Regions from separate parts of the Homo sapiens genome. Here region 1 is linked to region 2. The links are contacts of gene promoters, found by promoter capture Hi-C in blood cells and fetal thymus (Javierre and others, 2016). All regions are on one chromosome and are shown on one strand. The core of a region is centred on a gene start or on the middle of the fragment in contact, and the rest is flanking DNA. Distances in the headings are between cores, read along the strand shown.

The links. The method cuts DNA at HindIII sites, captures the fragments that hold promoters and counts their contacts. A CHiCAGO score of 5 or more calls a contact.
Region 1: a contact is called between a fragment that was not itself captured here and the fragment with the promoter of THAP3 in region 2, in 3 of 17 cell types (total CD4 T cells, activated CD4 T cells and naive CD8 T cells). The highest score is 6.4, in total CD4 T cells.

The regions. Positions count from the first base shown.
Region 1 is chr1:6,223,236-6,226,880 of GRCh38, reverse strand. ICMT (isoprenylcysteine carboxyl methyltransferase) reads left to right here. Exons shown (of 5, transcript NM_012405.4): 5 at 1,619-3,645. The coding sequence ends at 1,801. Among named protein-coding and RNA genes, the nearest start is that of ICMT, 11 kb to the left of the region's middle. The HindIII fragment of the contact is 2,283 bases long and covers 682-2,964 here.
Region 2 is chr1:6,623,381-6,627,429 of GRCh38, reverse strand. THAP3 (THAP domain containing 3) reads right to left here and starts at 2,562. Exons shown (of 6, transcript NM_001195753.2): 1 at 2,476-2,562; 2 at 2,138-2,280. The coding sequence starts at 2,211. PHF13 (PHD finger protein 13) reads right to left here. Exons shown (of 4, transcript NM_153812.3): 4 at 3,400-4,049. RefSeq lists a silencer at 1,762-2,171. The HindIII fragment of the contact is 4,820 bases long and covers 1-3,906 here.

The DNA.
Region 1 (3,645 bases), core at 574-3,073, 400 kb after region 2:
GGGGCAGCTAGACATAGTGGCACATGCCTGTAGTTCCCCCTACTCTGGAAGCTGAGGCAGGAGGATGGCTTGAGGCCAAGAGTTCAAGTCCAGCCTGGGCAATATAGTGAGACCCTGTCTTTAAAAAATAATAAAATTTTAAAAAAAACAAAGTGGGGATAGTAGCGTGCCCTCAAAGGTTTGCCATGAGAGTTGAACAGGGTAATGATTGTAAAGGGCTTAGCATGGCGCTGGGAACATAGTAAGTGCTCAATAAGAGAAGGTGTGAGAGGTCAGGACATGAGCCTGGCTCTCCGGGTGGCTGTATTGGAGCCTAAAATATATATTCAGAAAACATACAGAAAATGTATGTTGGGGAAGATGCACATCCACAGGGGACCAGTGGGCAGGTGTAGGTGAGTGGTTCCCTGAGGAGCTGGGGAATGCTTTTGGCCTTGAAGGACTGTTTGGCTGGAGATCAGTGGGAAGGATGTTCTTTGTTTTTTTTGAGAGGGAGTTTCGCTCTGTCGCCCAGGCTGGTATGCAGTGGCGATCTCAGCTCACTGCAACCTCTGCCTCCTGGGTTCAAGCAATTCTCCTGCCTCAGCCTCCCAAGTAGCTGGGATTACAGGCTCCCACCACTACGCCCAGCTAATTTTTCTATTTTTGGTAGAGACGGGGATTCGCCATGTTGGCCAAGCTTGTCTCAAGCTCCTGACCTCAGGTGATCTGCCCTCCTTGGCCTCCCAAAGTACTGCAATTAACAGACATGAGCCACCGTACCTGGCCAGGATGTTCTTAAAGGTGGAAGAAAGGGCCAGGAGTTCGAGACCAGCTTGGGCAACATTGTGAAACCCCATCTCTACAAAAAATACAAAAATTAGCTGGGTGTGGTGGCATGTGCCCTTAGTCCCAGCTACTTGGGAGGCTGAGGTGGGAGAATCACTTGAGCCCAAGCAGTTAAGGCTGCAGTGAGCCATGATCACGCCACTGCACTCCACGTGACAGAGTGACAATCTGTCTCGGGGGAAAAAAAAGAGGCAAAGTGGGCACAGCGTGGGGAGGGCAGGAGACTGGGGAAGTGGGCGAAGTGCTGCTCTTCTGGGGTTGGAAACCCAGACTCAGGGGGTGGGGTTCAGTCTCTGGAGCTCTCTGAGCGTGGAGGTAATCTGCTGGAAGGGGCATTTCGGAAGCTGAGTTTTGTGGCACTGTATCTCGTGCTGAAGCAGAGGCTGTGGGTTTAGGAGGCAGAGGCCCAGGCAGCTGTGGTGTAAGCGAATGCATTTGTGGTGGGAGGGTCCTGGGCAGGAAGGCAGCGTGCATGGGACCTCATGTTGGGGAGCTCACACCTGGAGGTGGGGGGCATTGCTGTCACCCCAAGCTGAGGGTTGAAATCCAAGAGGTTGATCTTGTGATTTACAGATCTCTCTCATGTAAGAGGAGCAACAGGAAAGCACGTGAGAAAGGCCTGCAGCACTGAGTGCTCAGGGCTAAGGTGACAGTACTGCTCCCAGAGACCCTGACGGTCTCAGCAGGGCATGGGCACAGAAATCCTCTGGGTATTAGAGACAGACGCCTACCAAAGCACAGGGCGTCATCCCACGGTCACCCTGATGAGCCTGGTGTCTCCCTCTGTTAGGTGATGCTGTGTAACCCCATCTGCGGCGTCAGCTATGCCCTGACAGTGTGGCGATTCTTCCGCGATCGAACAGAAGAAGAAGAAATCTCACTAATTCACTTTTTTGGAGAGGAGTACCTGGAGTATAAGAAGAGGGTGCCCACGGGCCTGCCTTTCATAAAGGGGGTCAAGGTGGACCTGTGACGGGCAGTGGCCCCGGTGACCTTGGGGCCTCCGACCCTGTGCAGCCTGGGACAAAACTGTTTCCGGTTGGCCGCTGCCACATGGATTTTCTTAATCGTTTTATGTCATTAGTCACTCTTCTGGAATGTCACTCAAGACCAAGCGGTCAGAAGGCCTGAGGACCCAAGGCCCCACTGGAGCAGTCTGTCCTTATGCCGAATCAAGGCGGAACATGGGTGAAAGACGAGTAAGGGGCAAATCACAGCAATATTCCACAGCGCCCTCCAGAGTTACCTGGGGAGGACCGAGGCCACACGCCACTGCCCCCGAGGCCAGAGTGTAAGTAAAGGATAACCAGGACTCGCTGGGAGAGATGGACTCTGTCCTCAGCAACACTCCACAGCAGAAAGGGGTAGCAGGTACCCCTTCTTATCAGCGGTAAAAATGCATTTACAACCTTTCATTTAACCGAAAAACACAGACCGCTTTAACCTCTTTATTTCTGTCCCCCACTGCATGAACATCTATACAATTTTAAAAATACTTCCTCATAGGATGCTTTGGCCCTTCATCTATTTAATCATAGCTACATACCTATTTTTTATAAGTAGCAGTACACATTCAAAGGGGTATTCCTAGCTCAATGCTTGGTGTTCTAGTTCAACTTTTATCCTGCAGCAAGTAAGCCTAGATAACTCTACACGATTTGGCTGAGTGGCTTTGTGTGACCGTGGCCCCAGGCCAAGGGGATCATGGCCCTGGCTGGCTTTCCCGGGGGTCTCAGCTCCTGTTGTCAGTGATAGGCGGCTCAAAGGAGCATCAGTTTCTTTTGATCCAAGAAGTGCTTACTGAATGCCTGCCCTGTGCGTGGCCTTAAACATTGAGAAGTGCTGCTCTCCGTTTATTTGGGATTTGATTCTCATTTTACCATAGCTTATATTCTCAATTTCAATGCCAGTCTCAGAACTCTTGTTTTCTGTGTTCTGTTCTCAAAATTACATTGTCCCTCATGTCATTTCAAACTGTTTTCCAAAGGGATTTGAGCATATACAACTACAAATCCAAGCAGATTGACTCTCAAAAATAATCTTAAATACTGCAAATAGTCCCAACTAAGATTCAGTCAGTATGTTTGTTTTGCAAGTTTGGGAGAGTAAGTTGGCTTTGAGTCACACATCGAAGCTTTAAGAGGTGAGACGCTGGCTTCATTCTGGACTAGACAGGAACTTGGCCTCAGCGTGAGATCCTGCCATGCAGTGTTGCGGTGGCACTGAAGAAGTGTGAATGTGAAGGCGGCGTCGGCGCGGGGCCAGAGCACCACTCTGCTGCCCCACCACGCGGCCTGTGAGGAGCCACTAAACCTTTCCGTGCCTAGACCTCCCCATCTGTGGAATGGGGTCAATACCACCTACCTCACAGGGGTGTTGTGAGGACTGAGAAGAACAATGTCAAATGTTTTTAATACTCAGATGTGGGAGCGACATCAATGAAATCTGTACTGTATGAAAGCTACACAAAAATGGGCAGACATTTGGTTAATTGTGCCAGATACCTAAAATGTATGTTCAGAAAAGCATTTTATCAACTCAGAAATATGACTTATTTCTAGATTTCATGGCTTAATGAATTTTTTCATTGTTATATATACCAAAGAGGCTTACGGGTTCATTGATTGGTTTGAAAACCAGACAGACGGCCGGGCGCGGTGGCTCACGCCTGTAATCCCAGCAATTTGGGAGGCCAAGGCGGGTGGATCATGAGGTCAGGCGTTCGAGACCAGCCTGGCCAACATGATAAAACCCCGTCTCTACTAAAAATACAAAAAAATAGCTGGGCGTGCTGGCGGGTGCCTGTAATCCCAGCTA
Region 2 (4,049 bases), core at 1,313-3,812:
CTGCGCCACTGCACTCCACCTGGGCAACAGAGTGAGAGTCTGTCTCCAAAAAAAGAAGTTTGTTTTTTATGTCAGGAGTTAAATTTGAGGTGCTTTTTAGGCTCTCCATGTGCTGGGGTGACAGGCGGCCACACGCATCTGGAGATGTCAGTGTGGCGGCCAACCCTGCGGAACCGATAAGCCTGGGTGAGATGGGCCCCTGGGGAGCAAGTGTGGCTAGAAGCCACCCCTGGGCCATGGCCCACACCCCAGGGCTCCAACACTTAGTGCTGGAAATAAGGAGGATCCAGCAAAGGAGACTGAGAAGAGACACCTGTGGCCAAGAAGTGTACCAGACGCCATGCGGGAAAAGTGACCCAGGCTCAGGGGTCAGTTGTGTGAAATGCTATGCAATCGATCAGTGTCACAAGGCTCACTAGTGATGTGACAGAGCTCTCGTGGGAGTGGAGGAAACGACTTCAAGAGAGAAGGCGCAGCAACTCCATCCCCAAGTACATACCTGACAGAGGCAAAACAGATAGATGCACTGCAACACAAGTCCCACCAAAACTGGCCAAAACAATGTTTGTTTTGTTTTGTTTTTTGAGACGGAGTCTCGCTCTGTTGCCCAAGATGGAGTGTAGTGGTGCGATCTCGGTTCACTGCAAGCTCTGCCTCCCAGGGTCAAGTGATTCTCCTGCCTTAGCCTCCTGAGTAGCTGGGATTTCAGGTGCGCGCTACCACGCCCGGGTAATTTTTGTATTTGTAGTAGAGAAGTAGAGACGGGGTTTCACCATGTTGGTCAGGCTGGTCTCCAACTCCTGACCTCAGGTGATCCACCCAGCTCGGCCTCCCAAAGTGCTGGGATTACAGGCGTGAGCCACCACGCCCAGCCTCCAGAACCATGTATTTGTCATCCAAAAAATGGGGCCACCCAAATGCCCTTCAATTGTAGAACAAATCAGTAAATTCTGGCACTTGCATTCAATGGAATATTATGTGGCAACGAAAGCGAATGAACTGCAATCCACTCTGATAGCGGGCAGGATAGGGTTCCCTTTGGGCAGGAGAGAGGAGGAGGGCCTGGGAGGGGGTCCAGGTAGGGGTTCTTCTCGGGGGTAGTGATGTTTTATTTCTTATTTTGAGATGAGGTATCGCTCTGTCACCCAGGCTGGAGTGCAGTGGCAAGATTATAGCTCACTGCAGCCTCGAAGCTGGGTTCAAGCGATCCTCCTACTTCAGTCTCCCGAGCAGCTGGGACTACAGGGGCACACCACCTTGCCTGGCTAATTTTTTTAAATTATTTGTAGAGGTAGGGTCTCCTTCTGTTGCCCAGGCAGGTCTCGAACTCCCAGGCTCAAGCGATCCTCCCGCCTCGGCCTCCCAAAGTGCTGGGATGACAGGCTTGAGCCACCGCGCCCAGCTGGTAACGTTTCAGTTCAGTGACGTTCACTTGGGGAAAACTCGCTGGGCTGTATACTTATGATTCGTGCATTTTTCTGCATGTACATTACGTATACTTCAAGCAAAGCATTTATCACAAAACAGAACAATGGGAGCAGAGGGAATGGGAACGATGAGCACAAGCCCCCCTTCGGAATGTGCCCAAAAGTGGGTAGAGAAATGGTGCCGTGACTGGACCTTGGAGAAAGCGCAACTGTGACTAATGACGATTGCTCCTGGGCCGGGCCGGGCCGGGCCGGGCGAGTGCTGGAGCAGACTCCAAAGTCTCCAGCGTCCTCCCGCGACCCTGCAGAGTCCCTTCCCACTGCCAGGACGCCCCTGGGGGTTCCACTCCTCCACTGCACTGCCCAGGTGCCGGGCTCCCTTCAGGACCGCGCGCGGCGGGGGCTGCAGCGACCAGGGACACAGCAAACCCCGGCCGCGGCCCGCTAGTCTGTTCAGCAAACACCTGCTCCGCTCCCTGCACGTCCCGGCCCTGGCCCCGCCAGGTGCGCCGCTGCCCCTCCGTCCGCCACTCCCCGCATCCCCGCGGCGGGCGCGGCGGCGCCAGCCCCTCTGGGCCCAGGACCTCGGCCTGTCCCCGGGCCCAGCGGCCGCACGCCTTTGGGCCTCCCGCCCGGCGCGCCAAGGCCTCGGAGTCGGTCCGCGGGCCCCGGGTCTGGGCCTCCCGCGCCCCCGGGTCCCCGCCTCTTACCGGTGGAAGGTGAGCTGCTTCCTGCGGCTGCTGTAGCGGTTGCAGCACTGCCGGGCCGCGCACGACTTCGGCATCTCGAGCCAGGCCTGGCTGCCCCCAACAAAGATGGCGGCGGCGGCGGGGCCTGCGGAGAGGGGAGGGACCTGCGGGGAGGGGCGGGGCCGCTGGGAGGTGGTGACGGGCCTGGCTCGCCTCCAGGGCGCGCTCATCCTGCCATCCCAGCCACCCGCGTCTCCCCAGGGTCGGACGGGACCCGGGGCGCCACGTAAAGGGGTGCTCCGGGCCCCAATTCAGGCCCGAAACCCCAACTCCTAGCCTTGGGCCTGTGCAAGTCTTACCCCATTCGCCAATGCTGGTCGCCTTTCACCTCCTTGCTTTGAGCACCCAACCAGGACGCATAGCCACTCACAGGCTTGGACAACTGGAAACCAACGGCCAACCCCTCAGTGTTTTTAGGGCTTTGAATTGTGAATAGGTCTGGACTCCTCTGACGTCACTGGAGGTGGTACTAGTTGGCCACTGGTGGTGTCAGTTCAGAGGCCAGACAGCTCACTGCCCTTAAGTTTGGTCACAGGGAACCCCCAAACGTGAAGAGGCAAAAAGGGCAACTGAAGGGGAGGGAGATTCCAGTTCAGGCCTTGCAGAAACTCCGAGGCTGCAGCTTTCTCAAAGCAGCCTATAGGGAAGGCGTCATCTTGTAAGAAGAAAAAAAAAAAAATCGGCCAGGCGCAGTGGCTCACGCCTGTAATCCCAGCACTTTGGGAGGCCGAGGCAGGCGGATCACCTGAGATCAGGAGTTCAAGGCCAGCCTGACCGACATGGTGAAACCCCATCTCTACTAAAAATACAAAAATTAGCCGCACATGGTGGCGGGCACCTGTAATTCCAGCTACTCGGAAGGCTGAAGCAGGAGAATCTCTTGAACCCGGGAGGTGGAAGTTACAATGAGCCAAAATCTCATCACAGCACTTCACAGCCTAGGTGACAAGAACGAAACTCAAGTCTCAAAAACAAAAAAAAAATCAAAAGTAGGCTAACCACTCACTGGGGCTTGAGCTAATCCTCAATCTGATGAAGAAACTGCAAAAACCATTCACATCTACTCGTCCTGTGGTTTGTTTCTAAGGAATTCACCAGCAAGGTACCTTAACACCGTGGGCATTTTCCATCCTGCTAAGTGCACACTGAGACGCTGCCTTCCCAGAGACTTGATGTAATCATGCTTTGGGGAGGTAGCAAGGAGAAAAGAAACACAATTGTCCTTCAGCACAGAACGCAATCGCCTGAACCTTGAATCATGAACCTCAAAGTAGCAATATATTTATTTACAAAATATACAGTTTCACAGAAACAGCTTCGCTTTATACACATAAACTTTAAAATTACACAGAACCATGTAAACGATGTGAAGTGTCTGGCCTGGCCAAAGCCAATGGGAGGGCCTACTTTTGGGGTGACATCCCTCCCTCCCCTCACTTCATTAGCCACCAACCAGGAACCACAGATGGGTCGTGCCTAATTTGCATATAAAGAAGCTGATTGCAGCTGCCCAGCTCAATCTAACACAAAAACCAAGGTGTCCGACTTCTTAGACACCACCCACAGGGACAGATCTGCTAAAAGAACAAAAATGCAATCAAGGAAACAAAATGGAGATGAGTATCACATGCATTCCAGAGGCATCGAACCTTCTAGCACACGTGACAGTTGCCAGGGCCGGCAGTTCCATTCTAAAGTCACATGGATTCTTAAATGCACCTTTAAAAGCTTGTGGAATTTTTTTTTTTCAAAGCAGAAAAACACTTTGGAGCGCTGGTTATTCACGTGGTGAAGACACTGGACAGGCGTTATCTCAGGGTAGATCTTTGGCAAATTCCTCTCCAATGCGTCCTGGCTGTTTGCCCTCGTCAGT